Linked DNA regions of Homo sapiens: regions 2, 3, 4, 5, 6 and 7 are each linked to region 1. Evidence: promoter capture Hi-C in 16 types of primary human blood cells and fetal thymus (Javierre and others, 2016). All regions are on one chromosome and are shown on one strand. The core of a region is centred on a gene start or on the middle of the fragment in contact, and the rest is flanking DNA. Distances in the headings are between cores, read along the strand shown. Region 1 holds the start of ATOSB (atos homolog B). Region 2 has its middle 11 kb from the start of CIMIP2B. Region 3 overlaps RUSC2 (RUN and SH3 domain containing 2). Region 4 holds the start of RUSC2 (RUN and SH3 domain containing 2). Region 5 has its middle 21 kb from the start of RUSC2. Region 6 has its middle 37 kb from the start of RUSC2. Region 7 has its middle 78 kb from the start of RUSC2.

The links. Contacts are between HindIII fragments. The CHiCAGO score rates a contact against its expected background, and 5 or more counts as called.
Region 2: a contact is called between a fragment that was not itself captured here and the fragment with the promoter of ATOSB in region 1, in 2 of 17 cell types (M1 macrophages and M0 macrophages). The highest score is 5.7, in M1 macrophages.
Region 3: a fragment that was not itself captured here is called in contact with the fragment with the promoter of ATOSB in region 1 in 7 of 17 cell types (M2 macrophages, M1 macrophages, M0 macrophages and 4 more); the score reaches 9.9 in M2 macrophages.
Region 4: a contact is called between the fragment with the promoter of RUSC2 here and the fragment with the promoter of ATOSB in region 1, in 9 of 17 cell types (monocytes, megakaryocytes, M1 macrophages and 6 more). The highest score is 14.3, in monocytes.
Region 5: a fragment that was not itself captured here is called in contact with the fragment with the promoter of ATOSB in region 1 in 9 of 17 cell types (M2 macrophages, megakaryocytes, M1 macrophages and 6 more); the score reaches 13.8 in M2 macrophages.
Region 6: a fragment that was not itself captured here is called in contact with the fragment with the promoter of ATOSB in region 1 in 1 of 17 cell types (M1 macrophages); the score reaches 5.8 in M1 macrophages.
Region 7: a fragment that was not itself captured here is called in contact with the fragment with the promoter of ATOSB in region 1 in 1 of 17 cell types (M2 macrophages); the score reaches 5.4 in M2 macrophages.

Annotation. Positions count from the first base shown.
Region 1 is chr9:35,113,301-35,117,691 of GRCh38, forward strand. It overlaps ATOSB (atos homolog B), which reads right to left and starts at 2,562. Exons shown (of 9, transcript NM_025182.4): 1 at 2,505-2,562. RefSeq lists an enhancer at 544-1,373 and a silencer at 2,707-2,766. The HindIII fragment of the contact is 12,182 bases long and covers 1-4,391 here.
Region 2 is chr9:35,572,762-35,577,152 of GRCh38, forward strand. No RefSeq gene overlaps it. Among named protein-coding and RNA genes, the nearest start is that of CIMIP2B, 11 kb to the left of the region's middle. The HindIII fragment of the contact is 7,332 bases long and covers 1-4,391 here.
Region 3 is chr9:35,545,971-35,550,361 of GRCh38, forward strand. It overlaps RUSC2 (RUN and SH3 domain containing 2), which reads left to right. Exons shown (of 12, transcript NM_014806.5): 2 at 460-2,565. The coding sequence starts at 552. Among named protein-coding and RNA genes, the nearest start is that of CIMIP2B, 16 kb to the right of the region's middle. The HindIII fragment of the contact is 7,783 bases long and covers 1-4,391 here.
Region 4 is chr9:35,487,481-35,491,871 of GRCh38, forward strand. RUSC2 (RUN and SH3 domain containing 2) reads left to right here and starts at 2,631. Exons shown (of 12, transcript NM_014806.5): 1 at 2,631-2,692. It overlaps LOC105376026 (a long non-coding RNA gene), which reads right to left and starts at 4,147. Exons shown (of 2, transcript XR_929580.4): 1 at 3,951-4,147; 2 at 3,639-3,776. RefSeq lists a silencer at 2,300-2,599. The HindIII fragment of the contact is 5,552 bases long and covers 1,841-4,391 here.
Region 5 is chr9:35,467,223-35,471,613 of GRCh38, forward strand. It overlaps the pseudogene ATP8B5P. Among named protein-coding and RNA genes, the nearest start is that of RUSC2, 21 kb to the right of the region's middle. The HindIII fragment of the contact is 5,907 bases long and covers 1-4,391 here.
Region 6 is chr9:35,450,709-35,455,099 of GRCh38, forward strand. It overlaps the pseudogene ATP8B5P and the pseudogene ZFAND6P1. Among named protein-coding and RNA genes, the nearest start is that of RUSC2, 37 kb to the right of the region's middle. The HindIII fragment of the contact is 224 bases long and covers 1,876-2,099 here.
Region 7 is chr9:35,409,817-35,414,207 of GRCh38, forward strand. It overlaps the pseudogene ATP8B5P. Among named protein-coding and RNA genes, the nearest start is that of RUSC2, 78 kb to the right of the region's middle. The HindIII fragment of the contact is 5,623 bases long and covers 1-4,391 here.

The DNA of each region.
Region 1 (4,391 bases), core at 1,312-3,811:
GTGTACCCTGGGAAAGCAGCAGGGTACAACCAAGAGGACTTACCACCAGGTACGGTGGCTCACGCCTGTAATCCCAGCACTTTGGGAGGCCAAAGTGGGCGGATCACAAGCTCAGGAGTTCGAGACCAGCCTGACTAACATGGTGAAACCCCGTCTCTACTAAAAATACAAAAATTAGCTGAGTGTGGTGGCGCGCACCTGTAATCCCAGCTACTCAGGAGGCTGAGGCAGGAGAATCACTTGAACCCAGGAGGCGGAGGTTGTAGTGAGCCAAGATCGCACCACTGCACTCCAGCCTGGGTGACAGAGTGAGTGAGACTCCGTCTCAAAAATAAATAAATAAATAAATAAATAAATAAATAAATAAATAAATAAAGAGGCCTTACCTTCCTGCCCTAAATTTATCCTGCTTTATTTTTTTTTATATAGCGGTTATCACTACTTGACTTCTCCCTCCCCCTCCACAATTTCTTTCTCCCCTTAATAGAATGGAAGCTCCATGAGAGCAGCAACTTTGTTTCGTTCATGCTCATATTCCCAGAGCCAACATTAGTCCCTGGCAATGTTCAATAAACATTGACTGAAGAAAACAACAGGCCCTGGGCTGAGTGAACAGCAATCCGGCGATCTGGATCCTATCTTCTGCCCTTTCACTGTGACATCTGGGGAATCACAGTCTCTTTAGCCATAAATTTCCAAACCTGTAAAATGAGGTGTTTGTATAAACAATGACTGCTGAGGGCCTCTGCAGCTCTACAATTCTAATGACTGTTGTTCACTCATCTCCATATCAGAGGATAGCTCCAGGCATTCGAATGCTCTGCTGCCTGTACCAAAGCAGAAAGGCTATATCCTCCAGTCTCAGCACAGCAAACTGATGCCCTTTCTCTTCATGCCCCACCCACTCACACAAACCGCCCCAGTCCTGAGGAAGCTGGAGAGTCTGCCCTAGGCCCGCCCTCTCTGAGAGACTGTCTGGGAAGCAGTGTTGCCATAGCAATCAGCTCCTCCTCAAAAGGCTTCAGCCTGCCCTTTTTTACCCCACCCTACCCCAGGGCTTTGTCTGTCCTCAGCAGACCCACCCCCCTCCCCAGCCAGTCTCTCAGCTCCTGGGTGGTTGTGTGAGGAGGCTGGCTTGGGGCCCCTTTTAGCAACACTGTCACACTCATTTAGCCACTGTGTGGAACTCAAGCCTTTCCCACCCTCTCCCAGCCAGCCCAGGGGCAAAAAGAACTCTAGCACTCCATCAAATCCCCTCAGGGAAGCAGAGGAGCCCTCAAGAGAACTAGGTCCTAGCCTGTTCTGATAGTGCTTCCAAGCCTGGAGTGTGGGGAGCCACTCCCTCTTCCTCCCCTAGCTGTGGCTGGAACCTCACAACCCTTACTGGGTTCAGCTTACAGTCGTGGCCCACCTCTCAAAACAGACAGAAGACCCTCAATACTCCTCACCACTTCCCCCCTCCCACAGAAGCCCTAGCGTTCCCTACCCAGAAGGATAAGGGTGGGGAAAATCTGTTTGTGGCAAGTGGTTAAATGTGGCTACCAGTCACTTGGGGATCTATGCGAGAGACCTGGGTGGTAGTGGTGGGGGTGGGGTCTGAGCCCTGCCGCTGGTTACCAGGGTCTCTGGTCATTGATAACAAAGTACCGGGCAGGGCACAGCTCCTAGATGGGCAAGGGCCAGGCCAGGCCCTGGGGCAAGGAAGGAAGTGGGAAATGAGCACACCCAGAGCATAAGGGCAGGGCGGGGGAGGGGGGAGACAGAGACCAAGGCCGGCTCTGGGAGGAACAGGAACTAGGATGGGGGGTTGACAGGAACCCAGCGGGGGAAGGGTCCCCCGGGACCTCAGCTTAGGGAAGAAACCCCAGTCTCAGCTGGACAGATCCAAAATAGACTGAGGAGACATTCACACAAGCCCTAGTGACAAGCAGGGTCTGACTCCTCTCTGAGTGCCCAGGCCAGAAGGCGGAGTTAAAAGCTGAGCAGACAGGAGTGCAATAGATTGGCCTCTTCACCCCACTAACCCCAACACCCTTGCTCTTAGAACCCAGAACACAAGTGTCTTCCTGTAGTTACTACAATGCCCTAAACTGTTACTTTGTCAAAGTACTGGGGGTTCTGTTCTCCTGCCTCAAGTTGGGCCTACAACCCCTTCCCCTAGATAGTGCCCGCAGACCCTCCGACACCGCTACACTCCTTCTCCATTAAACAGCCCCCCTTCCTTCAAAGCACCTCCATGTCCCCTGCCCCTCATGTACCTCCTCCAACCCCCCACATCAGACAGAGACAGCCCCCTCACAATGTACCTCGCAACCCCCCCACAACAAAGCGCTCCCGCCCTTCCCCCATAGAGGCCTCTGGAGAATGCACCTTGTTGCCCACACATTGAGTCCCCAACTGCTCCCGCGACTTCGTATCTTCCCTCAACACACAGCAGTCTCCAGATCGTCTGCAAAGCGCACCCCCATCCGCGTCCCTTCTTCCACGCTCACCCTGCCCCACACCTGTAGTTCCGTGGGTCCCGTTGCACTTGGGGACGTGGTAGTGGTTGGGGCAGTTACTGAGCAGCCCTAGCTGTAGCCTCCGCCTGCAAACCTCGCCCCTTCAGTCTGAGCCCCGCCCCCGCAACGCCCGGGCCCACCCTCTCCCTTGTCCCACCTTCCACCTTCTGTGGACTTGTCCCTTTCCTCGTTTAATTTCTCGAGCTCCTCCCCTGTAGCCCGGGCCCCGCCCCCTTCTGACCTCGCACCTCCTTCGCGTTTTCTTTGCATTTCCCCAGGATCCTCAGCTTTTCCCAGGCCCCACCCCCGATCCCCGCCTCCTCTCGGTCTCTCCGCCTTTCACCAGGACCCGCCCCCTCGGATTCCAGCCTGGCAGAAGTCGCGCCAAGACCCTTCCACCACGATCCCCCTCCCATCTCAGAGCCCCTCCTCCTTCCGCCCCTTCTCCCTCACGCCTCACCCGGGCGGTCGCACTCCAACCAGGATCCGCTGGCTCTGATTGGCGGTGGCGGCCCCAAAGGAGGAAGGAGGAGACAAAGTGATGGTCGCAGGTCGCCTGAGGTCCCACCCCGGCCACGTGCGGCTTCTGTGATGACAAGTCTAGAGGGGCGGGGCCTCGGCCGGCAGGCTGCTAGCCTGAGCGGAGCGGATCAGGGCAGAGGTGGGGAGATGGAGCCAGGGCCAAAGCCACCAGCCTGAGGGCTCTGAGCCGGGTTGGGGCTATCTCGCTGCTTTCGCACCGGTGTGAGCTGCCGCCGGAACTCTAACCTCTTTGTAGGGATGTCTGGGTGGGCGCGTGCATTTGCACTAATAGGGGAGGTCCGTAGGGATTGCAAGGTAGTGCAAGGAATCTCAGGGGTCTGTGAAAATGAGGGAATCTGGGCGGTGGGGTTCAGGTCTGCGAGGTTGAGCAGTTTCTGAAGCCTACGCTGTGCAGGCGGGTGTGGGTTCTGGGATGGGATGGACAGTAGGAGTCAGATCAGTACCTACTGAGGCAGGTCAGCGAGATCTGTGAATTTTACGAGATGAGTGTTGATATGGAGTTAGGAGGGCCTGCAATTGCTGGAGAAAAGTGAGGCCTTTCCCTTGTACAGGTGTCTAATGAACTGCATGACAGTTACATATGTTCTGCAGTTTAAGCGGCGCCCTCTCCAACCTCTCCCCAGGAGATACAATAAGGGAGGGCGACGCTTCCCAGACACCGGTAGATGGCAGCACAGGACACTTGCAGAACTGAGACAGCCCAGCTCAGCGCCGATCTGTGGCCTCTCCGAGGAGCGGACCGTTTGGGTCTGGATTTGATCAAGTTCTACAAAAGTCACATTCTTTTTTATTTTTTTTTGAGACGGCGTCTCGCTCTTTCGCCCAAACTGGAGTGCAGTGGTGCGATCTCGGCTCACTGCAACCTCCGCCTACTGGGTTCAAGCAATTCTCCTGCCTCAGCCTTCAGAGTAGCTGGGATTACAAGCGCGCGCCACCAGGCCGGGCTAATTTTCGTATTTTTGGTAGAGACAGGTTTCACCATGTTGGCCAGGCTGGTCTCAAATTCCTGACCTCAAGCGATCCGCCCGCCTCGGCTGCCCAAAGTGTTGGGATTACTGGCGTGAGCCACAGCACCCGGCCAAATCTCAGATTCTTTAGGCTCTGTGACTTTGTCAGTAGTTAACTTAAACTGGTTTACTCAACGTCAGTGGTGTGGAAGCGCAAAAAAAAGAAAGAAAAAAGTATTTTCTCTGGCCATAAGGAACTTATTATTTAGACAGTGATACAAATGCCTACATAATCCCAGAAGGGTAAACTAAGAAAGGTTTTGGGTAGTGGGAAAACCACAGAGTTTGAAGTCATCTAAACTTCTTCAACTTCAACTTCAAACTTCAACTTATGGGTTCA
Region 2 (4,391 bases), core at 932-3,431, 460 kb after region 1:
ACATGGTGAAACTCTATCTCTACTAAAAATGCAAAAATTAGCTAGGGGTGGTGGCACATGTCTGTAATCTCAGCTACTGGGGAGGCTGAGGCAGGAGAATTGCATGAACCTGGGAGGTGGAAGTTGCAGTGAGCCGAGACCATGCCACTGCACTCCAGCCTGGGTGACAGAGTGAGACACTGTCTCAAAGGAAAAAAAAAAAAAAAAGGTCGAACTCATAGAAGCAGAGCAGAATGGCCATTACCAGAAGCTATGGAGAGACAGAAAGGGGGAGGTATTCATCAAAGGGTGCAAAGTTTTGGTTATACAAGAGGAGTAGGTCCTAGACATCTACTGCACAACATTGTGCTTAGAGCCTATAGTTAATAATATTGTATTATTATAAAATTTTTTTTAAATTATACTGAAAAATGTATATTTAAAAATTTGCTAACAGGGTAGATTTTTTTTCCATTATGCTCTTCTAAGATACTAATAAACCATAAGATGGTAGATCTTATATTAAGTGTTCTTATCACTAAATAAATTGGGCAGGAGGAAACTTTTGGAGATGATGGATATGTTTACGGCATTGACTATAGCGCTGGTTTCATGGTTCTATACTTACCTCCAAGTTCAAGCTGTATACACTAAATATGTATTGTAAGTCCTCAGTATTGTCAATAGGTTCTTGGAAATTGCAACTTTCAGAGAAATGATGTGAAATGATGGGTACGAGAGTTTACCGTACATGAGGAGAGCATGCAAACTCCATATAGACAGTGGTCCTGGCCTGAATCAACCTTTTTTTCCCCTGGCCAGGTGCAACGGCTCACGCCTGTAATCCCCATACTTTACGAGGCTGAGGTGGAAGGATCACTTGAGCCCAGGGGTTCAAGACCAGCCTAGGCAAGACGGGGAGACCCCCCTCTCTACAAAAATAAAAAATAAAATTTAAAAAATTAATTTAATTAAAATTAATTATCTGGACTAATTAGCCAGGCAAGGTGGTACACACCTGTAGTCCCAGCTACTCAGGAGGCTGAGGTGGGAGGACCGTTTGAGCCCAGGAGTTTGAGGCTGTAAGTGAGCTATGATCACACCGCCACACTGCAGTCTGGGTGACAGAGACCCGGTCTCTATAAAAATAAAAAGTTTAAAAAATGATAAAAATAAAATATTTTTTCATATCAATGTTATAAAGTAACAACAGTGAGTGAAACATCATTTGAGAACCTGCTGTACAACTTTCTGTATGTCAATAAAGTGATTTTTTAAAAAGGGAAATCATCAGAGGCCAAAAACTAGGCAAAGGATAGAAGGCACTTTTGGCTTAATGGCATTGGCCAAGCCACACAAACTTGGAGGTTCATTTTCACAGGTTCATGAAGTACTGAGAAAAGGAGATAAAACTCAGTGACCACCCAAGATGGAGAGTCTAACAGAAAATTTTTCCTGCATAAAACTGGCATGCATCAAGTTATGTCCCTTTAGTCTTTTTTTTCTTTTTCTTTGAGATGGAGTCTCATTCGGTCACCCAGGCTGGAGGGCAGTGGTGCAATCTCGGCTCACTGCAACCTCCGCCTCCTGGGTTCAAGCAATTCTCATGCTTCAGCCACCTCAGTAGCTGGGATTACAGGCGCCGCCACTACACCCAGCTAATTTTTGTATTTACTTTAGTAGAGACTAACTTTCACCATGTTGGCCAGGCTGGTCTCAAACTCCTGACCTCAAGTGACCCGCCTGTCTTGGCCTCCCAAAGTGCTGGGATTATACACATGAGTCACCGCACCCCACCTTGCCCCTAGAAATCCATCTGCCCCCCAAATCCTTCCTCAGGGGACTACAAAGAAAATTGCCTATCTCAAAACTTGGTACCAAGTGAAAAAGGGGGACATATTTCCCCTAAAACTTCATAACTACAAGCTGGCTCATGCGTGATTTGCAGATGGAATTCACTCTACCTGAGTAGTCTGAAATACTATCAAGATAATGAGGTAGGAGGTGGGACTGGACTCCAGAGGCAGGGCTCAGCAGCGGACCAAATTGAGGACTAGCTAAAACAGGGATGGGGCAGAAGTGGTTTTCCATATGACATGGCCACCAGTGTGCTATGTCAGTTTACCATTGCCATGACAACACCCAGAAGTTACCACCCCTTTCCACAGCAATGACCCAATGAACTGGAAGTTACCACCCTTTACATACAGAAATTACTGCATAGTCCACCCCTTAATTTGCATGTAGTTAAAAGTGGGTATAAATCTGAATGCAGCACTGCCTCTGAGCTGCTGCTCTGAGCATACAGCCTATAGGACAGCCCTGCTCCACAAGGACCAGTACCTCTGCAGGTTTATTAGGATCTTGGAAGAGCATAATGGGAAAAGAAAGATGTACTCTGTTACCAAATTTTTTAAGTATACACTGCTGCTTCAATAAAAGTTGCTGTCTAACACCACTGGCTCATCCTTGGATTTTCTTTCCTGGGCAAAGCTAAGAACCTCCCAAGGCTAAGCCCCAATTTGGGGGCTCACCTGCCCTCCCATCATCTGGTGATCAATGAAAGGAAAAAGATAATGAGCAAGAGGCAGCAAGTCAGTGGAGACAGTGGCAGTCAGCAGACAGGTGAGATGGTGGGACAGCAGAGACGGTGGCAATCAGCGGTCAGTGGAGAGGTGACGACTATGAGAGACAGCAACTGGGAAGACAGTGAGAGACTGACAAGACCAAGCAGAGACAGCGAGAGACCGCAAAGCGGTCTGTGATCAAGGCTGCAAGAGCTATAACACTGAGGCTGTAACAATAAAGAGCTGCTAACACTAACCAAAGGCTCTTTTCAGAGCCATCATTTTCCCTGGCAGGCGGCAGGGCCAAGCAGACACACTAATGGCCATAATGTCACTGCCTCATGTGAGCTCTGACCATGGCAGGCCAGTGGGTTACCAGTCCCTATGCTTGCCCCCTGTGTGACAGCTGAGCCCACCCAAGCTGGGGGGTCCTGGAGGGACCTTCACCAGGGTCCCACATGAAAGACTGGCTGGTGCCATTTGGCTCCTATGGATGGGTAAGTGTCCCTTCTTCCCCTACTCCATAACATCTAGTGAGCTGGGGAATAAAAAGCCTTCGGCTAAGTGGTTAAAAGTCCCCCACAGTATGAGTGCCCTGAGGCACATCCTTGTGACCTCTCCCCCCTGTGCTTTCTTCTCTGACTCCATATTATTGTTCCACCAATCATTTTATTTTTATTTCGAGTCCAAAAATTTACGTTTCATTTGAAGCGTTATGTTTCCTTTTGACTTTCTGTTAACTGTGTTTGAGCAATTGTTTAAGGCTGGATGTTTAGTTGTGCTCTGTTGCGTCAACTCTGGGACACCAGAGTCACATTGTTCTATGACCCCAACTTGGTCTTGGGTTCACTGTTGGCCACTCCCTTGGTGCCCCCAGGTTTTTGGCATTTGGTGAGGGGACCCTCATTGGCTGAAACAGGCACTCTGGGTTTCCAGCATTGGTATGATAGGCCACTCCCAGATGCTCTGGGGTTTTCAGGATTGACATTCCCTCTAGGATTATAGGTTATAGCCCCACCCACTACGGGAATATTGGTATCAACTTTTTCTGCCCTGAAGTTAGAAGTTATTGTTTTCCTGACAGCCAGTTGCAAGCCCCTTACCGTATTCTGTCTTAGAACTGCTTTGCTCAAGCCCCTCTACATCAAACGGACCAGGAGTTCCCAGGCCCCTGGCCTGATGGACAACCACTCAACAGCGGTAGACGAGTGGCCACCTGAACATTATTATTATTATTTTTTTTTTTTTGGTGTCTCCACTACTGGGAAGGGTCTCTGGCAAGTCAGGGCCTCTGCGGTCTCTCCTCAGGCAACGCTGCTTATCCCCTTCCCTTCCTCTCTTCCACAGTCTCCATGTGTTTAGCCGCCTTCTCTGAACAACCCTCACTCTGTGGAATTTAAGCTCAACATTCTACTGCCCTTTTGTGGCTTGTAATCCACTTTTGTAATGCCTTCTTACCTATACTTAAACCTTCTCTACAGGGAGTGGGAATCTAAAAGGGAAAAATAACAAGGGCCTAGTTACTTTCCCTCTTGCTTAGAAAAATTTGTGCGCATAAAAATCCTTGTTAATCATGGGGACAATGATGAGTATTCCAGATAACTCACCATTAGGACGCCCTTCAGGCTAATTCAGCTTAAAGAAAAATTCATTTTCTATTGCAAAACCGTTTGGGTTCAATACAAACTATAAAACCAACAGATATGGCCTAAACATGGTTTTATATGCTATGATATTTTACAGTTGGACTTTTTCTGTAAAAAAGAAGGAAAATCGGAAGAGGTCCCTTATGTACAGTAAAGGGCTATTATGACCCTTTACTGGCTCACATTAGTTAAGGCACCA
Region 3 (4,391 bases), core at 595-3,094, 430 kb after region 1:
TATTATTCATGATTTTCCCTCTTGGCTGTAAACTTGTGTGCTATAGCTGTGTCTAAGCCTTAAACATCCTAGATGGTTTTTTCTTAATTGTGTCATTATTCATAGTTTTTTTGTGCTAAGGACTGGTCATTGTTTACTGCCAAGGAGAGGGTCCTTGAAAGAGAAAGGGAAAGTACTGCCCAAACCTTCATATGTGGCATTAGAAGGACTTGGCCTTTTGTCATAATTTGATGCATAGTGACCTTAAAATTAAGGGGGACCTCAGGTGCTGCACCTGTGCAATGCAGAAAGCATGGTTACGTCCCCACCTGCCTATTGGGCTGTGTGGTCAAGCTCCATCTTGACTCAAGCCTTTTCTCTTCCTGGGCTCTTCTCCATCTGAAAATGATGTAGGGAAGGGCATGCCCCTGACTTCCAGGGAGGTGACATTAGGTTCCCTTTCTTTCCCTCTCTCTCCAGGTGCCAAGCTCTCCTGATGAAATGTGTTCTGCCCCACTGGGCTCCAGGGACAGTGTCTGGTGCTGTTGAAGCCCTTATTCGAACTTTCCAGAATGGATAGTCCCCCAAAGCTGACTGGAGAGACCCTCATCGTTCATCACATCCCCCTGGTGCACTGCCAAGTCCCAGACAGGCAGTGCTGTGGAGGGGCAGGTGGAGGTGGTGGGAGCACAAGACCTAATCCCTTCTGCCCACCTGAGCTGGGCATCACCCAGCCCGATCAAGACCTAGGACAAGCTGACTCCCTGCTATTCAGCAGCCTGCACTCTACTCCAGGAGGAACTGCACGGTCTATAGACAGCACCAAGAGTAGGAGTCGGGATGGAAGAGGCCCTGGAGCCCCCAAACGACACAACCCCTTCTTGCTGCAGGAGGGTGTGGGTGAGCCAGGACTTGGTGACCTGTATGATGACAGCATTGGTGACAGTGCCACCCAGCAGTCCTTCCACCTGCATGGCACTGGCCAGCCCAACTTTCATCTATCCTCTTTCCAGCTGCCACCATCTGGCCCCAGAGTGGGCAGGCCATGGGGGACAACACGCAGTCGGGCTGGAGTGGTGGAAGGGCAGGAACAGGAGCCAGTGATGACCTTGGATACTCAGCAGTGCGGCACCAGCCACTGCTGCCGGCCAGAGCTGGAAGCAGAGACTATGGAGCTGGATGAGTGTGGGGGACCTGGTGGGAGTGGCAGTGGGGGTGGAGCCAGCGATACCTCTGGCTTTTCCTTTGACCAGGAATGGAAGCTCAGTTCAGATGAATCCCCAAGGAACCCTGGATGCTCCGGCTCAGGGGACCAGCACTGCCGCTGCAGTAGCACATCCAGTCAGTCCGAGGCAGCTGACCAGTCCATGGGCTATGTGAGCGACTCCTCCTGCAACAGTTCAGATGGTGTGCTGGTCACCTTCAGCACCCTCTACAACAAGATGCATGGCACCCCCCGTGCCAATCTCAACTCTGCCCCACAGTCCTGCAGCGACTCTTCCTTCTGCAGCCACTCAGACCCTGGCGCCTTCTATCTGGATCTGCAGCCCTCCCCATTTGAGTCTAAGATGTCTTATGAGTCCCATCACCCTGAAAGTGGAGGAAGGGAAGGGGGCTATGGTTGCCCTCATGCCTCTTCTCCTGAGCTTGATGCCAACTGCAACTCCTACCGCCCACACTGTGAGCCGTGCCCAGCAGTGGCTGACCTCACAGCCTGCTTCCAAAGCCAGGCCCGTCTTGTTGTGGCCACACAAAATTACTATAAACTTGTCACCTGTGACCTATCTTCCCAATCATCCCCAAGCCCTGCTGGCTCTTCCATCACTAGCTGCTCTGAGGAACACACCAAGATAAGTCCCCCACCAGGCCCTGGCCCAGACCCAGGCCCCAGCCAGCCCTCTGAGTATTACCTATTCCAGAAGCCAGAAGTCCAGCCAGAGGAACAAGAAGCAGTGAGTTCCTCCACCCAAGCAGCAGCTGCTGTGGGCCCCACTGTGCTTGAGGGACAAGTATACACGAATACTTCACCCCCCAACCTCAGCACTGGACGTCAGCGCTCCCGCAGCTATGATCGCAGCCTGCAGCGCAGCCCTCCTGTCCGCCTGGGCTCGCTGGAACGTATGTTGAGTTGCCCAGTGCGCTTGAGTGAGGGCCCTGCAGCCATGGCCGGGCCTGGCTCCCCACCCAGGAGGGTCACCTCCTTTGCCGAGCTGGCCAAGGGCCGGAAGAAAACTGGAGGCTCTGGCTCGCCCCCACTTCGTGTGAGTGTTGGGGACTCCTCCCAGGAGTTCTCACCCATCCAAGAAGCCCAGCAAGATCGGGGGGCCCCACTGGATGAGGGCACTTGCTGTAGCCATAGCCTGCCACCCATGCCTTTGGGGCCAGGCATGGACCTACTTGGCCCAGACCCAAGTCCACCCTGGTCCACCCAGGTCTGTCAGGGACCCCACTCCAGTGAGATGCCTCCTGCTGGCCTCAGAGCTACTGGGCAAGGCCCCCTGGCTCAGCTGATGGATCCAGGGCCTGCTCTCCCAGGGAGCCCAGCCAACAGCCATACCCAGAGGGATGCAAGAGCTAGAGCTGACGGTAAGGAGCCTAAGGGTTAGCAAATATGTGGCTATTCACCAGCAGGATATGCATGGCCACCTCCCTGACAGGTCCCTGCCAGACCACCCCATCCATACCACTAGAGGTTCCACATCCTAGATCTGTTATCCTTCTAGGCCAGGGCAGGACCCACAGCTACAGTGGAATAGGCTCACTGGAGAAAGACAGAGGACTCAAAAATACACTGAGCAGACTGGGTGCAGTGACTCACACCTGTGATCCCAGCCCTTTGGGAGGCCAAGCCAGGCGAATCACTTGAGGTCAGGAGTTTGAGACCAGCCTGGCCAACATAATGAAACCCCAGCTCTACTAAAATAAAAAATAAACTAGCCAGGAGTGGTAGCACCCACCTGTAATCCCAGCTACTCAGGGGGCTGAGGCAGGAGAATTGCTTGAACCCAGGAGGTGGAGGTTGCACTGAGCTGAGATCATACCACTGCACTCCAGCCTGGGCAGACAGAGTGAGATTCTGTCTCAAAAAAAAAAAATAAATAAATACACTGAGGAGATAAAATCAGCAGGACTTAGAGGCTGACATATTGGGAAATGAAGGATTCAGAAGACTGATTCTGAACCTGGATGATGGGAAAGATGAGGCCATGGATAGGGGCTGTAATCACAGGAGATTTCCTGGAAGAAAAGTTCAGGTTCAGACCTTTAGGAGTTTGCAGTGCCTAAGGGGCAACCAAGGGATATGTCTAACAACAACAACACACACACACTGGGCGTCAGTGAAGTTTTTTTTTTTTTCTTTTTGAGACGGAGTCTTGCTCTTTCGCCCAGGCTGGAGTGCAGTGGCCTCCCTAGGCCAGCTCTTTCCCTATTTATTTTGTTACATTTTAAATAAATATTTTATACCAGTGTGTTAAGGTGGTGCTAGTGACAGAGAGATGAGAGGGATGACTCTGTTTTCAAGGATTCCAGCTAAGGACAGAAACAGAAAACGTAGTTGATCATTAAAATGCAGAGATGGCAGTGTTCCGTACTGGCCAGTGAAAGGGGTATGTAAATCAGACTGAAACGTCAGGGAGGAACTGCTAATGCAGTTACATTTAAGCCCAATCTAGAAAGATGATTAGGATTGGGCTTTGTGACGACTTGTAAGAAGAATGTTCTAGGCTCACAGGATTGTCTGTACAAAACCACAAAGGCACAGAATAGCTTGACCCTTTCTAGGAACTGCATATAATTTGGTGAAGCCATAGTGGAACACAGGTGGAACCACTGAAAAATTTTAGAGAAATGGCTTTTGGCATTTGTTTGTTTTTGTTTGGTTTGGTTTTTCTGTCTGCTTAATTATATGTTTTGATTTGCATTTAGAAAGATCACTGGTTGGTTGTTCCTTCAGGCCTTGTTTAAAAAAAAAGTAATTGGGCTGGGCACAGTGGCTTACACCTGTAATCCCAGCACTTTGGGAGGCCAAGGCGGGCGGATCACCTCAGGTCAGGTTTTCAAGACCAGCCTGGCCAACATGGTAAAACCCCATCTCTACTAATAATACAAAAATTAGCTAGGCATGGTGGCGCATGCCTGTAATCCCAGCTACTCTGGAGGCTGAGGCAGGAGAATCACTTGAATCTGGGATGGAGATTGCAGTGAGCCGAGATCACGCCACTGCACTCCAGCCTGGGCAACAAGAGCGAAACTCCACCTCAAAAAAAAAAAAAAAGTAATTGGATCACTGGTTGTTTGGGTAGAAGATGGACTGGAAGGGGTGTCTTCCTGAAGTCAGGAGAAAGCACTGTGTAGATTGGAAAGTCATTGGAATAAAAGTGGTAGCTGGCACTTGCTGGGCGTGGTGACTC
Region 4 (4,391 bases), core at 1,381-3,880, 370 kb after region 1:
TTTCAGTGAGTATGGAACCTAGAACAGAGTCTTCTATTTTTTTTTTTGAGACAGAGTCTTGCTCTGTTGCCCAGGCTGGAGTGCAATGGCGCAATCTCAGCTCACTGCAACCTCCGCCTCCCAGGTTCAAGTGATTCTCCTTCCTCAGCCTCCCGAGTAGCTGGGATTACAGGCATGCGCCACCACACCCGGCTGATTTTTGTATTTTGAGTAGAGACGGGGTTTTACCATGCTAGTGGTCTCAAACTCCTGACCTCAGGTGATCCGCCCGCCTCAGCCTCCCAAAGTGCTGGGATTACAGGCGTGAGCCACCGCGTCTAGCCTAAGAGTCTTCTCAATGGGTGATATGGTTTTGTTAGTGGTGGAAGAGGTCTGAGTTACCCCAAGTTACCTGCAGCCTATCCTTATGGGTCTGTAGCAACTTTAGTCCTTGCTTCATCAGAAGAAAGAATTCGACTGTGGGGCAGAAAGCAGAAAAAGAGACCAAGGCAAGTTCCAGAGTAGGAATGGAAGTTTATTTAAAAAGGCCTTAGAACAGGAAAGAAAGGAAGGTGCGCTTGGAAGAAACCCAAGCGGGCACGTGAAGGTTAAAGAGAGAAGGTCAAGTGCCTAACCAAGATCCTAGGACTTTTACAGGCTGGCCTCTTTCCCATGATTCTTCCCTTAGAGTGGGCTTCCCGAATGCGCAGTGCTTTCCTTCCCGTTTTCCGGTGGAGGGTGCCCCCAGGAGATCATACGTCACCATTTTTGTCTCTTAACACGCATGCCCAGAAAGTTGCTTCTCCCTGAGGCCTGCATTCAATTAGCATTTTGATGTTAACATGTGTGGACCATCAGGAAATGGCCTCTCCCTGGCCCAGCCGAATTATCCTTTTTAAAGAAGCAATGAGGTAATTATGGAACTGTCACTGGTAGAGGGTCTGACTGCAAGTTGTCCAGGTTCTTGGCGTTTTGAACAAAGAATTGGACAAAACGCCCAGCAAAGCAAAGAAAGAATGAAGGAACAAAAGAAGGAAAGCAGGGATGTATTGAAAACGAAAGCACACTCCACAGTGTGGGAGCAGCCGGAGCAGCGGCTCAAGGGCCAGGAAACAGAATCTTCTTGGGTCCAAATACCCCCTAGAAGTTACCCGCCACTTCATGCTCACCTCATGTAAATGAATTCGTAGCCTGCAATCAGTCTGATTGGTTGCAGAAAGCAGCCAAGCAGAGGCTGAAGTGAAGTTACAAAGGTCGCACACCTGTGCAAACATCTGATTGGTTGCAAGAAGCAACCAATCAGAGGCTAGGGTGAAGTTACAAAGTTATACTTCTATGCAAAGTTAGACTCGGCTGCAGTCAGTCTAATTGGTTGCAGATAGCCAATTTCCCATCTGCTGGGCAGAAAAGTTGGGTGGGGGGTTTGTTACTTAGGTGTGGAAAGTTAGGGTTTTCCTTTCAATTTAGTTCCAGGAAGTTGGCATGAACCAGTCTTAGGTTCCCTGCCTCCAGTCCCTATTCTCCTGCCTCAGAACCATCACCCAACATCCCTAGTGGGTAGCAGGGGAGAACCCTCTCCTGCCCCGCTCATGCCTAACTACCTGTAACAGTTTGGCTGTGTCCCCACCCAAAATCTCATCTTGAATTGTAATTCCCATAATCCCCCTGTGTCAAGGGCGGGAACAGGTGGAGGTAATTGGATGATGGGGCTGGTTTCCCCTGCGCCCTTCTCGTGACAGTGAGTGAGTCCCACAAGATCTGATGATTTTATAAGCGTCTGGCATTTCCCTTGCCTGCACTCACTCTGTCCTGCCACCCTGCGAAAAGGATGGCTACTTCTTTGCCTTTTGCCATGATTATAAGCTTCCTGAGGCCTCGCCAACAATGCGGAACTGTGAGTCAGACCTCTTTCCTTCATAGTATTTCTTCATAGCAGTGTCAGAACGGACTAATACAGTGGGTTTCCCATAACATTTGCAGGACTGCCTGCCCCATCCCCCTCTGGCTGTAAACAGCAGGAGTCACACACAGGCATCTTCCATGTCCCCCACACATCCGGCCCTGAAGGGCAGGGGGCGCATGGGTTCTACGTTTCATCAGGGGTTCCGAACCCTGGCTATGCACTGGAGGCCAACCCCACCTCACCCCACCCCACTCCACCCCAGTGGTTCTGAGTCGGTCCAGTGTGAGGTCAGCCCTCCTTCTGTTGTTTGGTTAGTTTCCACACTAGGTTCTACTGGGAAGCCAGCGTTGAGAACCGCCGCCTCAGGCGAAGCTGGGACTCACACCCACCGGCCCTGGAGGCCCGCGGAAGGTTTCCCTGGGTTCCAGCACCCGGGAGCCGCGCGTCGCCAGGCACCACCCCGCGGGGGCGGGCGCGGGCCGCAGAAGATTGGGCCACGGCGGAAGCCTCTCCGCTCCCTTAGCGGGAAAGCTCTGCGCGTGACTCGGCTGCGCCCATCGCTGCGGGAGCCGGGGAGGGGGCGAGCACCTTAGGCCGGGCGGACCGAACCAACGCGCCGCCCGGAGGGGCGGCCTGAGGGCAACCCAGATCGGACCATCGCGCCACGCCGACAGGGGCCGGCCTTTCCAACCCGCCCGGAGGGAGGGGCCGCCGGCGCCTCTAGCCTGCAACGCGACCCCTGGAGGGCGAGACACGCCGCCGCCGCCGCCGCCGCCGGCGCGGAAGGACGAGGCTGAGGCGAGAAACGAGGTAGGAACGCCTCTCCGGAGGCGGGCAGGGTCCCACAGACCCACTGCCCCGCGTTCCAAGGTCTCCCTTAGGGGAGGGCCTGTCTTCCCACCTATGTGCCTTCAGCGCCTGCCCTTCCCTTCAGCCCTTCCCCCTCGGCTGCACCCGCCCTCTGCGTCCGCCCCGACCCCCTGGGCAGACCTCGTCCCCAGCCCTTCTGACCCTTGGCCTTCTCCTGACCCTTCAGCTCTGCGTCCACCGGACCTTCAAACACCCAGCACCCACCGTCCCTTTGGGCGCCACCCCAGATGCATCCCCAACCGTCTCCTCAAACTGCCCCCTTGGGGACACCCTCCCCCCACAAAACGACTCGCGCCCAGTAGTCACCTTGGTACCCCAAGTCCCTGTGACGGCTTTGGGGAAGCGTGGCCGCCCGGCACCCAGGCCGGCGACTGCAGCGGGGGCCTCCCTACTGCCAGTTCCCGGCCGGGTCCTCTGCTCCCTCCACCCTTTTAGCCCCTGCCTCCCTTTATTATCCGCCCGGCGCCGGCGTTGCTTCAGTCTCTGTCTCTCTGTCATCCAGTTTTACCTGGAGAAAACCTTTGGCTTGGCAGTAACCGTCCCCTACTACTGCACTCACTTGCCGCGAAGGGCACGGTGATCCTGTTGCCCACAGTTGGCTGTGGCCCTCCAGGCCGGCCCTGCGGACACGGGGAACTGTCCTGGGGGCAAGGACGGTACACTACTCATCTTTGTATCCCCGGTCCCCAGCACGGTGCCTGGCACATGGTAGTGTTGCTGGTGGAGGGTCTTCACTACCAGTTGTCCTTTGCGTTTTGAACAAGTAATTGAGCAGCGGAGGAATGAAACGCAGGAACAAGTAGATCTGAGTCAGGCAAGGATTACCACTATGTGAACAGTGTCCGTGATAAAGAACACAGGCCTTAAAAAAAAAAAAAAGGCGGAATTTACAAAGGACAAAGGGCCTGAAACCTGTTTTTATTTATTCCTAGGTGGGTGACCTGAGCAGATTTAGTTTCCTGGGGGTTTGGGTTCCACGCGGAAGCAGGTGGTATCGCTGAGGGATGAAACAATGGCTGGAAAGCTGTAGGAGTTGATAAGGTAGAAAGTAGTTACCTAATTAGTAGTGGCATTATTGTAACTGGGGCTCAAAGTATTAGCAAATAAAAGTAGTGACTGGATTTTCTTAGCCGGCTCCTTAGATATTAAGCAGTGGTGGATGGCTTAATGGAAGGAAGAGCAGATCCAAACAGTATACCTGGTATTCTGTTAGTTATGCCCGTCCTGCTGTATGGCCAGCCACTGTTTCTCTTCTGTTTTGAGCCAGGTTAGGATCCCTCTGATTTCTGTGCTGGTATTTAAGATTCCTTTTTGAAGCCACAGTTGCCTTAACTGGAGGCTGGACATGTTCTCATTCATCCATTGCTAGTTTTGATGTATCCTTTTCCGCTTTCTGTCTCCCACCCTCTTACATGTCTTTATAAAGTCTTGGATCAGGCCAGGCACAGTGGCTCAGCCTGTAATCCCGGCACTTTGGGAGGCCCAGGTGGGCGGATCACTAGAGGTCAGAAGTTCAAGATCAGCCTGGCCAACATGGTGAAACCCCATCTCTACTAAAAATACAAAAATTACCGGGCATGGTGGTGTGCACATGTAGTCCCAGCAACTCAGGAGGCTGAAGTCCCAGCAACTCAGGAGG
Region 5 (4,391 bases), core at 557-3,056, 350 kb after region 1:
TTTAGTAGAGATGGGGTTTCACCGTGTTGGCCAGGATGGTCTCAATCTCTTGACCTCATGATCTGCCCACCTCGGCCTCCCAAAGTGTTGGGATTACAGGCGTGAGCTGCTGCACCCGGCCACACATAATAGATTTTTAGGGCCAAGCGTGTAAGTAGCATAATCACTTCCACCAGCATTGCATTGGCTAGAACAGAGTTACATGACCCATATAACTGCAAGAGAGCTTGGGAAATGTGCTCTAGATATGTGCTCAGAAGGAAAAGAAAATAGAATTTAATGAATACATATCATTATCGCTGCCACAATCTACCCTTCTGATCATCATACCATTTCACTTTTCCTCCCACATATGGAACACCCTCATCATCTCCCCCAAATCCTACCCAGTCTCTGCATCCAACTCAGAGTCCAAGATCTCTCACTGATGCACAGTCCTCTCCATCAGATCTAAATGAAGTTCCTCTTGGTCTGGAGATGTGAGAGGATCTCCTTTATTCATTGCTCTCAGTGATTTCTGGCTCCACTCCTGAGAAGTTTTCCCTCATTCTTTATCCTTGCTGACCAACCCTGAAGTGGATGTTGGGGAGTATGCTCTTCTTAGGGACTGCAGTTTTTATAACCTGCTTCCTGCCCAGTGTGGTTTTAAGGATTTCCAAACAGTCACAGGCTTTTTTAGACCAGGCTCATAGTTATCTAGTAATACCATTCCTTCAAAACCCATAAGGCTTCTCATCTGTTTGCTTCCAATTAGTTTCATGTATCAGTAACCCCCTGCCCCCCAAAATTCTTTCCTAGACGTAGTTTTTGAGTTTATCCTGTTTCTTTGCTTCCTTGCCCCTCCATGCCCTTCTCTCTCAACTTACTGGCAAGAAAGTTGAGGCTATGCGGAATAATAGTCATGGGTAAGAAGGTATCACCTTTAACCTGAACTTTGCCCGAAGGCTGAGTCACTTTATTCAGTTGAAAACAATTATTGGGCCTTTTTTGCTTAAGGTCTCAATCTTATCTCTTCCTGTTTAGTGTCTAGAAGTCGTAGTTCTTTGATGCCCCAAATTTCTGTACCTCCTTATTTCTGCCTACAAATTGGCTAATTCTTTCCCTAGTTTAACTTTAAAAAAAATTTTTTAGTACAGATGAGGTCTCAGTATGTTGCCCAGGCTGGTCTCAAATTCCTGGCCCCAAGCAATCCTCCTGTCTGGTCTTTCCAAAATCCTGGGATGGCAGGCATGAGTGACTGCACCCAACCAACTCTTTCTTTTAATACCTGTCAAAGGCAGTCAATACACAATGATATTTTGATTCTTTTTAACCACTTCTCTTAGAGCTGCAGGTTCAGTAGGCATATGGTCTACCTTTCAGTTTTATCAAATTCTTTCATGTTAACATGACTACCATATTTTCAGCCTTTTATATCAGTTTCCTTATCACCCACCCCCTAACTGCTAAGCCCCACACGTTTTAGACTTCTGTTAAAGCAGCTTCAATAATGGAATGATTACGTGCTTGGGTTCTGGAACTGGTTCAAAACCTGTTTCTTCTACTCAGTAGCTAAGTGACTTTAGACAAAATTCTTTCTCACTCTTAAGTTCCTCATCTATTATTAAAAGAGGATTATTGTAAATATTAAATAATATGTATAAATACTTAGCATAGTACCTAGCACTTGGTTAGTTATTACTATGTTTTATTACTATTATCTCCCTTGAAAATCCCAAGGAGGGCTTCTGCTGGACTTTCTTTTCTGTCCTATGTACTGCTGCCTAGAGACTGTGAACTATAGGGCCTCCCTGCCCTCCTAGGAGAGGGACGCTTTGCTGAGAGATAAGGCTCTAGACTGTAGAACTGAAGCAGCACATATGTTGGATAAAATGTTAATTTAATTCTTTTTTTTTTCATGTATCGATTTTCCTGGTTTTAGGCATCGTGTGTTTTGTCCTAGCAGTTGGGCATGGCATTTGGCAGAACAAGAAATGCTACCACTTCCAGATTTTTCTGCCATGGGTAAAATATGTCTCTTCATCAGCTGTCTCTGCCATCCTCATATTCTGGTCCTACTTCATTATTCTCAATACCATGGTGCCCATTTCCCTCTATGTCAGGTAGGCTTCTTTGATCACTTTGGGGTGTGGGGGAGGAGCTGACTTCATACTGTCTACTTAATTCCCCAACCAGAGTGTGAACTTTTAAAAAGCATACACTTGTGCTCTTTAACCCCTCACTCTCCACAGTAGGTGGTGTACAAAATGCTCTGAGATATATCTAGAGGTTGCATAAATGCCTTCCATGTCCAGAATACTGTGCTAGGAAGACACTATGTGGTTTATACAAAAAGACAGTTATCCCTGCCCTCAAATAACTTATAAAGTAAGTGGCTAAATAAGACATAAAAACACATGAAATAACTAGAAAACATACACACAAATTTGGTGATGCTTAAAGCATGGGTAGTTTCCCCAGGAAGATAGGCCAGGCAGCCCATAGTTTACCAATGAGATAGGTCCAAACATTCACTTGTAAGTCAATTAATCAGAATTCAGAATCCATTTTCCCACACAAACAGTGTGACAGATGGTAGATAGGTGTAATTGTGACCTAAGTTCAACTCCTAAAAGTTGTGGAAGAGAAGAGGAAGGGTTTCCCTTCCTCTTTTTCATAAGCACCTTGAATGAAAATTTGAAATAGCTGAAAAAAGTATTTACCCTACTCTGATCATCCTTTTCTGGGTTCTGCATTTCCTTACACATACACACACCCAAACACATTTTAGTTTCCTCCTTTCCAGGCTTTCTAAACCCTGTACCGGGGCTTTTTGGCAATAAAAAAAAAAGGACCCTATGTAACTAGATTACCTTATTTAGTAATATTTATTGAGTATCTACTATGTGCTAAGGTTTAGAGAGATTGCTATGGTGGCTGATATGGTAAAGGATGGGAGGGGTCCCAACTCCAGGCATAGAGATTATCAGTAATGAGTCAATGATGAGGACCTGAGCACCTCCTTCCTCACCTCAAAGGAAAAAATCCCCATCTGTCAGTGCAGCTGTCTCAGACAGGGATTACTAATAATCACTCTTATAATAAAGCAGACTAACACACATTAAGTATGAATGATGATAAGAAGGAGACCCCTTAAAAGTCTTCACTGTTTTAAAATGAACATGCTTGTTAGCCATAAAGAATCTATAATGGACGCTATTTGGAGCAGAAGAGGAGTATGACAGAGGCAATAGGGAAAACTTATATAAAATGAGAAGAGGTTGTTGTGGGAGGAGACACACCACAGGCAGGCTGGCTCTGCCTGGAAATTTATCAGAGGGTCAGCCCATAAACTATTCCTGATTTTCATAGCTTCTTTCCTTCTTCTGAAATAAACTCTGAGTGTGTCAAGGTTCTCTGTCTTCCCCATGTGACAGGAGCAATAATCCTCCAATTGGGCCAACACAGCCTTTTATAAGTTAACTGTTACTCTATCACACCTTGCATTACTGCAGAAATTCCAAAATTGTAACTTTTCCTGGATACATTATGGAAAAAAAAAAAAAGAATAAAAGCCAGGTATGACTCAAAAAAGTTAATCAAGTATATCTGGGTCCAGGTGGTAAAGCCTTGGGTGATAATGGCCAAAGTCAGCATTACAATGGGTTGGCTGGTGGGAAGGGTCCTTCAGAAGGGTAGAATCCCAAGGAAGACACTCTGATTTTCAGATGCTTAGCCCTGCTAAGAAAGAAACCAGGATGATATATTTGCTTGTCCTGTTCTGACGCAGAACCATTCTTTTTCTGCTTTCTCCTTAGTGTTGAAATAATAAGATTGGGCAACAGTTTATATATCAACTGGGATCGGAAGATGTTTTATGCACCAAGGAACACACCAGCACAGGCTCGTACTACCACCCTTACTGAGGAGCTCGGCCAAGTCAAATATGTGTTCTCTGACAAAACAGGGACTCTGACTCAGAACATTATGATTTTCAACAAATGTTCTATTAATGGGAAGCTCTATGATATGCATGTCTTCCTGCTTTCCCCAAGTCCTGGGAAATTTTTACTTTGCAAATTGTTTTCAAGACTAATCTAGCTCTAAATCTGTAAGCCTCTGGAATTCACATTTATCTCCTATTCTCACAACTGTCTCTATTCTCTAAGCAAAGACCACCCAGCCCAAACAGTTCTAACCAAAAAGCATTTATTTAGCATCTTATAGGTACAATCTATTGTGTTGGGCATTGAGAATACCGAGATGTGCAAGACTTAGTCTCTGTCCTCAAGGAGTCCCCAATGTCTATGTACTCAGTTCACTCCCACTTTAAATCAGATGGATGTTGGTCAAAGGGTACAAAGTTTCAGTTAGGCAGGAGGAATAAGTCTTCAAGATCCATTGCACAGCAT
Region 6 (4,391 bases), core at 738-3,237, 340 kb after region 1:
ATATATTGCTTTTCTTTGCAGCACGATTTCTCTTTTGATAATGCCCTTTGGGGCACAACTAGTTATCGGTAACTGAATGTATCTTAATCATTATGGCTGCTTCTGTTTTTTCATTAACAAAGGTTATTCATATGTTAGCATATAGTTTCTTTGCACCCACTATTTATGTCTGAATCATTTGTCACGAGAGTGTGTGCTGATGAGATTCTAAGTTTGTGTGTTTAAACTTTTTTTTGAGCGAGGGAAGAAAAAGCTGTATGCATTTCATTGCTGTCTACAGGTTTCTTTCAGATTATGTTCATGGGTTTGTGTGTATACGATATGAAGAATGATCTGAAGTAATTGTGCTGTATTTATGTTTATTCACCAGTCTTTGATTAAATAAAAAGGAAAACCAGAAAAAAAAAGTCTCAAGCAGTCTTAGGATCCCAGAGATTAAGATCTGAGGCAGAAAAGAACAGACAAATTACAAGAGAGTCTAGCTTACGCCTGTTAGGAAGAATAGTCACAAAGTGTTTAAAAAGATATCATGCTTTGATTAGTGGTACAAGAATGGATCAAGGACCCAGTTTAGAAATTAAGACATATTTTTATTTTCTCATAATCAGTTTTACTCATGACCACTTTAATAAAACCTTACTTAGACTAATAGAACACCTTGTTTGAACTGATGATTTTCAAACTCTTTTCTTAGAGGAGTCTTAAGGTCTGGTGCAGTGGGAATAGGGAAGATCAAGTGGATTTTATTCTATCCTCCTCATTTTGAAGTTCTTGCTTTAAAAAGAACAGCTTCATGTTTATCTATTTTATGAAATTTCAGTTGTAAAAATAGAAGGGGGTTCTATTAAGAAGTGAAATTTGAAAAGCACTGCAATATATAATAATCAGCTTTGATAATAGATGTTTAAATTGAAGACTAGTTAATAAATTATTTCTATGCTGTCTGATATAAGCTGCCTTTATTCTTATTAGTTATAGACAGATTAATTTCCTCTCTTAAACAGCTTCTTTGCATAGCTGAGCAGTTCCTGTAATGCCTACACTTGATCTCATAACTTTTCATGTTTATTTTTACTCTATTATTTAGACTCTGAAAACTCAAAAAAAAACCTTTTCTTTGTACACTCTTATCATTAATATCTGAATTATAAACTGCCTTTTTTCTTTATTATGGGAAACATCCCAGATCCTTTTCAAAATCCTTTGGATCTAGCAAAAGGGGTTTTAGAAAATTAGGAAGGTTCATTCAGCTCAGAATCTAGTATTCGTTCATTATACTTCTCTTTCTATTATGGAGTAAGTAGTTTTCAGCAGTTGATCAAAGTTCCATTTCCTAGTTTCTTAATGAAGAAGACAATCATGGTCAAGAATTAAGGAAGGTAACATGGGCAAATATGCTTTTGACAACATTAGCAACATACATCATTAGACAGTAAGCTAGGTCATTTAGCCTAGGCTTGTCTTCAAAACAGGATGTCTTCAAATGGGTGTGATGGCACACACCTGTAATCCCAGCAGGTTGGGAGGCCGAGGCAGGAGGATTGTTCAAGCCTGGAAGTTTGAGAGCAGCCTGGGAAACAGTGAGACCCCATCTCTATAAAAAACAACAACGAAACACAAAAACACAGGTGGAACAAGATGGCTGAATAGAAGTCTTTATTAATCACCCCCCCCACACACACTCCCACAAAAACACCAAATTTAACAACTATCCACATATAAAAGTACCTTCATAAGAAACAAAAATGAGTCGAACAATCACAATACCTGGTTTTAACATCATATCACCAAAAGAAGCATTGAAGACAATCTTGAATTGCTGATGCCACCATTCCCCCATCTCCTGGTGGCCATGCATGGTGCAGAGAACTTGTAAGCTTTGGGGAGGGAGAGCACAGCAATTGTGGAACCCTGCATTGAACTCAGTGCTGTTCTGTCATAGTGGAAAGCAAAACCAAGCTGAACTCTGCTGACACCCACCCATAGAGGGAGCATTTAGACCAACCCTAGCCAGAAGGGAATCGCCCATCCCAGCAGTCAGAACTTCAGTTTCGTCAAGCCTCACCACCTTGGGCTAAAGTGCTCTGGGGTCCTAAACAAGCTTGAAAGCAGTCTAGGCCACAAAGACTGCCATTCCTAGGCAAGCCCTAGTGCTGTACTGAGCTCAGAGCCAGTGGACATAGGGGGTCGGGGTGGGTGCACACAACCTAGTGAAACACCAGCCAGAGCAGAGAAGGGAGTGCTAATGCTACCCCTCCCACAACCCCAGGCAGCACAGCTTGCAGTAACAAAAGTGACTCCTTTCTTCTGCATGAGGAGATGGAAGAGTAAAGAGGCCTTTGTCTTGCAAATTGGAGACCAGGTCAGCCACAGTACCATAGGGCAGTGGACAGAGTCACGAGGCCCCCATTCTAGGCCCTAGCTCCCAGACAGCATATCTAGATACACCCTGGACCAGAAGGAAACCTGCTGCCTTCAAAGGAAGGACCCAGTCCTGGCAGGTTCATCACCTGCTGACTAAAGAGCCCTTGGGCCCTAAAGAACCAGCAACGATACCCAGGTAGTACATTGTGAGCCTTAGGTGAGACTGTAGAGTGGCAGCATCTAGACGTGCTGGCTTCAGGTGAGACCCAGCACATTCCCAGCCGTGGTGGCTATGGTGAGAGACTTCTGTTTGAGAAAAACAGAGGGAAAGGTAAAAAGGACTTTGTCTTACAGCTTAGGTACCAACTCAGCCACAGTGGGGTAGAACATCACGTGGGTCCTTGGTGCCCCTGATTCCAGCCTTGGCTCTTGGATGGCATTTCTGGACCTGCCTTGAGCCAGATGGGAGCCCACTTCCCTGAAGGGTGAGTCCCATGACTGACAGTATTCAACACAAGCTGATTAAGCCCTTGGGCCTTAAGTGAACATTGGTGGTAGCCTGGCAGTACCCTCTATAGGTCTTTGATGGTGGCCATGGGCACTGGCTCCTTTGCCTGTGGAAATGGGAGGGAAGAGTGGGAAGGACTTTGTCTTATGGTTTAAGGGTCAGCTCAGCCATAGTAGAATACAGTACCAGGTAGACTTCTAAGGTTTTTGACTTCAGTCCCTGGCTCCCAGGCTGCATCTCCGGACACCCCAGGGGCTGAGGAAATTTGCTGCACTAAAGGAAAGGACATAAGCCTGGCTGGCTTCACCATCTGCTGATTGTGGAACCCTGGGGCTTGAAGTGAACATAGGCAGTTGCCAGGTAGTGGTCACAGCGGGCCTTGGATGAGACCCAGTGCTGTGCTGACTTCAGGTGTGACTCAGCACAGTCCCAGTGGTGGTAGCCTCAGAGTTGCTTGTGTCACCCCACACACAGCTCTAGGTGGCTTGGCACAGAGATAGACTAAATCTGTTAGGGAGAAAGGAAAGAGAACAAGAGTTTCTGCCTGGTAATCCAGAGAATTCTTCCAGATTTATTCAAGACCACCAAGGTGATACTTCTATGAGTCTGCAAGAACTGCAGCATTATTGGGCTCTGGGTGCCCTCTAATGCAGATATGGCTTAGATCACAACACCCAAGTCCTTTCACATACCTGTAAAGCCTTCCCAAGAAAGATAGGTAAAAAGAAGCCCAGGCTGCAAAGACTATACAAACAATTAATAACTAACTCTTCAATGCCCAGACACCAACAAACATCCATAAGCATCAAGACCATTCAGGAAAACATGACCTCACCAAACAAACTAAATAAGGCACCAGGGACCAATCATGGAGAAACTGAGATATGTCACCTTTCAGACAGATAATTCAAAATAGCTGTTTTGAAGAAACGCAAAGAAATTCAAGATAACAGGAAGGAATTCAGAATTATATCACATAAATTTAACAAAGAGGCTGAAATAGTTAAAAAGAATTAAACAGAAATTCTAGAGTTGAAAAATATAATTGACATATTGAAGAATGCATCAGAGTATTTTAATAGCAGAATTGATCAAGCAGAAGAAAGAATTAGTGAGCTTGAAGACAGGCTATTTGAAGATACCCAGAGAAGACAAAAGAAAAAAAAATGAAGCATTCATACAAGGTCTAGAAAATAACCTTAAAAGGGCAAATCTGGCCAGGTGCAGTGGCTCACGCTTGTAATCCCAGCACTTTGGGAGGCCGAAGTGGGCAGATCACGAGGTCAAGAGCTCGAGCCCATCCTGGCTAACATGGTGAAACCCCGTCTCTACTAAAAATACAAAAAATTAGCTGGGCTTGGTGGCGGGTGCCTGTAGTACCAGCTATTTGGGAGGCTGAGGCAGGAGAATGGCGTGAACCCGGGAGGTGGAGTTTGCGGTGAGCTGAGATCGCACCACGGCACTCCAGCCTGGGTGACGGAGCGAGACTCCGTTTCAAAAAAAAAAAAAAAAAAAAAAA
Region 7 (4,391 bases), core at 1,023-3,522, 300 kb after region 1:
ATCCTAAAGGGAGCAGGAATAATCACACTCCAGCCATCTTTCAGAATGGAACTGCCTGTTATGTAAGAACAACAACAACAAATTATTTCTAATGTGAAATTTTGAAAAAGGAAGATTTAGATTTAGGCTTCCTTTTGAGGAATGGAGAAAGTGCAGAATGAAATCAGTTCACTGATTGAAGGTCACAGTGTACTTTCTTTCTTTTTTTTTTTTTTTAGTAACACGGAGTCTCGCTCCGTTGCCCAGGCTGGAGTGCAGTGGCGCGATCTGGGCTCACTGCAAGCTCCGCTTCGCAGGTTCACGCCATTCTCCTGCCTCAGCCTCCCAAGTAGCTGGGACTACAGGTGCCCGCCACCACACCTGGCTAATTTTTTGTATTTTTTTTTAGTAGAGACGGGGTTCCACTGCGTTAGCCAGTATGTTCTCCAGCTGACCTCGTGATCCACCCGCCTTGGCCTCCCAAAGTGCTGGGATTATAGGCGAGTATACTTTCTTTACTTGCTGTCATTGGGCAGTTGTCCGATTTCATCCTGGAGGAAGCCCATGTCAAGGACACTGGCCCTGGTTCCAGAAGTAGAAAGTCAGGAAACTTCCATCCAAAGGAAAACCAGGGAGTCCTCTGCTACCCTCAGGAGAGCTAAAGGGCTAAAGGACCCAGAAGATAATCAACTGCTCTGCATATTCTTATGAACAGAAAATATGGAGAGCCAGAATACTTTAGGGTGTGGTAAGTTCCAGGCAAATGAAAAATGTAATAATCATCAATAAAGACTGATCAATTCATTCGACAAATATTTATTGATTATTAAATAAGTGCGAGCCACTGTGCTAGGTATGGCAATACAATGGCAACAAAACTAGACAGAATTTCTGCTCTTAGCGAGATTATGGTTTAGCGAGGGGAAACATTAATTAACAGCATATTTAATAGCACCAATAAATATAAAATATCTGCCATAAATGCAGTGAAATAAATACCATATGGGAAGTATAGTAGTCAAGAGCATGAATTCTGGAGTCATACCGTCTAGGTTTGAATCCTAGCTCCACCACTTACCACGTTATCTTGGGCAAATCTCTTAATTTCTCTGCTACAGTTCCTCCTCTGTAAAATGGGGATAATAATAAAAGTGCTGCCACATAAGGTTGCTGTAAGGATTAAATTAGGTAATATTTATAAAGCATTTAGGACAGTATCTGCCACATGATAAACACTGGTAAATGTGTAAAAAATAATCAAAATAATCTATAAGAGCTTGACACTTTCAATCAGAAAGATAATTAAGAACTTCATCTATAAATGTGTGTTATTTCAAAAGCCAAACCTTTTACCAAGGAAAAAGAGTTGAAACCAGTTTTCCTGGTAAATCCCTACAGGTAGGCTAGGACTACCTATTGCAGGTAGATTTACTGCTTCTGCTATTTTGAGCAGTAAGCAATTAATACTGGTTTACCCAAGATTTTGGCCTATTCCACTGAATTTACAAAACGACAGTGCTAAACCCAATCATTTGGCAGGTAACACTATTTTGAATATTCAGAATCTTCAGGCCTATTCTGGTTGGAAAATCTACAGTACATAAATACTGGCCAGTTCTAACATCTTGGTTGTCTACCCTCTCCTTTCTATTTTCTTTTCTTTTTCTTTCTTTCTTTTTTTTTTTTTTTTGACAGAGTCTTGCTCTGTTGCCCAGGCTGGAGTGCAGTGGCACGATCTCAGCTCACAGCAACCTCCACCTCCTGGTTCAAGTGATTCTCATGCCTCAGCCTCCCAAGAAGCTGGGATTACAGGCATGCACCACCATGCCCAGCTAATTTTCGTATTTTTAGTAGAGACGGGGTTTCGCCATATTGGCCAGGCCGGTCTTGAACTCCTGACCTCAAATGGTCCACTCGCCTTGGCCTCCCAAAGTTCTGGGATTACAAGCGTGAGCCACCATGCCGGGCCTCTCCTTTCTATTTTCTACCACTTCTTAGTTCAGCCTTTCATCATTTTAAGTGTTGACTATTATAGCCGTCTTTTAAGTGGTCTTTCTGTCTGCACTCCGTTCCCCTGTAAATCTATCATATTAATGTTTCTGAACTTCCAGTTTATCACATTTTCCCCTACTCAAAATCTTTGTAGGATTCTCTGAGATAAAGTTTAATATCATTATCCTAATATTAAAGTCCTGACTTGAAGTTCTTGTTTTCTGCCTCCTTCAGATTTTCGTACTTACTGTACTATCATACAACTTGTCTAGTCTCAATGCCAACCCTTTCATTAAGTCCTTTTTCCTGCCTACAGAACTGTCCCCTGCATCTCTACCTAATTAACCTGTGTTCGTCTCTTGAGTTTAGTGCAAGTCCTTCTCCATGAAGCTCTTTCCAACAATTCTGCCCTGCCCCCCTTTATCTCTCCTTCTTGAATTCCTGTAGTGCTTGGGTTCTACAGTGTTTGTTTGTTTGAGACAGAGTTTCACTCTGTTGCCCAGGCTGGAGTGAAGTGGTGTGACCTTGGCTCATTGCAACTTGAGGCTCATTGGTTGAGCCTCCTGGGCTCAAGTGATCCTCCCACCTCAGCCTCCCAACTAGCTGGGGCTAAAGGCACATGCCACCACACCCAGCTAATTTTTGTACTTTTTTATAGAGATGGGATCTCACTATGTTGCCCAGGCTGGTCTCAAACTTCTGGGCTCAAGTGATCCACCCACTTGAGTGGGAGGCCACTCAAGTGGCCTCCCAAAGTGCTGGGATTACAGGTGTGAGCCACCATGCCTGGCCCAGTTTTTTAAAATAATAGCCTTATTGAGATACAATTAACATGTCACAAAATACACCCTTTTAAAGCATGTAATTCAGTGATTTTTAATATATTCAGAGTTTTGAAACCATGACCATAACTTAATTGTAGAACATTGTCATCATCCCAGAAAGAAACCCTATACCCGTTAGCATTCACTCTCAGTTCTTTCCTCTGCTCTCCTATACCCTGGCAACCACTAATGGATTTTTCTGGACTTGACATATAAATAGAATCATATAAAATGTGGCCTTTTGTTACTAGCTTCCTTCACTTATGTTTTCAAGGCCCATCCTTATTGTAGTATGTATCCTTTTTATGGCGGAATACTATTCCAGTGTTTGGATATACCACAATTTGCTTATCTCTTCATCAGGTGATAGACATTTGAATTGTTTCCATTTTTTTGGGTATTATGAGTAATGTTGCGGTAAACATGTGTAAAAGTTTTTGTGTGGACATACAATTTTAATTATCTTGGGTCTCTACAATTCATTTAACATCTTATGTACACCCTGCCTTGACATGCTTTGCTGTTTTACATCTATGTTGTGTGATTCCATTAGATTGTCTGCCTAGCATAGTGCCTTCAGAGTTCTCTCTGTCCTAGAGAGTTTGCAAGACTGTCCCATTATTATATTTCTCCTTTCCCTTTCCTTTACCTTCCACACACTTCTGTAAATACCATCTTCATCACCACCACCACCACCACAAGACAACAATAAAAATTATCAACAGTTATCAAAAGGTAGCTTAATAATACTAGGTAGTAATTCAAAAGGTTGGAGTAAATCTATACATATTGACAAGGGAAGATGACCAATACATAGTGTAAAAAGAAAAAGGTAACTTGCAGAGCAATACATGTAGTAGGATCTCATTAAAAATATATATATAGAGAGATGTGTATATATACATAAATATTTGTGTATAAATTCCTTGAAATGGAAGGGACCTAAAGGATATACACCAATCTATTTATAGTGGTTTCCTTAGGAAAAGAAGGAGTGGAAGGCACAGGAAAGGAAACTTTAAATTTTTTCTGTATATATTTTTGTTTTTGAATCTTTTACAGTGGAAATGTATTTTTATATTACTTTGGGTAATTCTTAAAATTAATAAAAAGAAAAAAGTGTAATCACAAATGGAAAATAACTAAGTTGGAGAAACTAAAAAGAAAGGACAGAAAAGGAAAAAAAGAAAAAGGACTCTAGGAAGGAAGAGGGCATAGATATTGTGGCATGTAGACAGGAAAGTTAATCAGAGTCTTAGTAACAGAATACTCTACAAAAGAGCATTAAATAAACACAAAAGTAGACATTTAGGTTGCACAACTCTGTGAACATACTAAAAACCACTAATTTTTATACTTTCAATAGGTGAATTGTATGGTTTATAAATTTTACCTCATAAAGTTGTTTAGAAAAGACAGATCAAAAGTTCCCAGTGGCCGGGTACGGTGGCTCACACCTGTAATCCCAGCACTTTGGGAAGACAAGGTGGGCAGATCACTTGAGATCAGGAGTTCAAGACCAGCCTGGCCAACATGGTGAAACCCCGTCTCTAGTAAGAATACAAAAATTAGCCAGGCATGGTGGCGCGTGCTTGT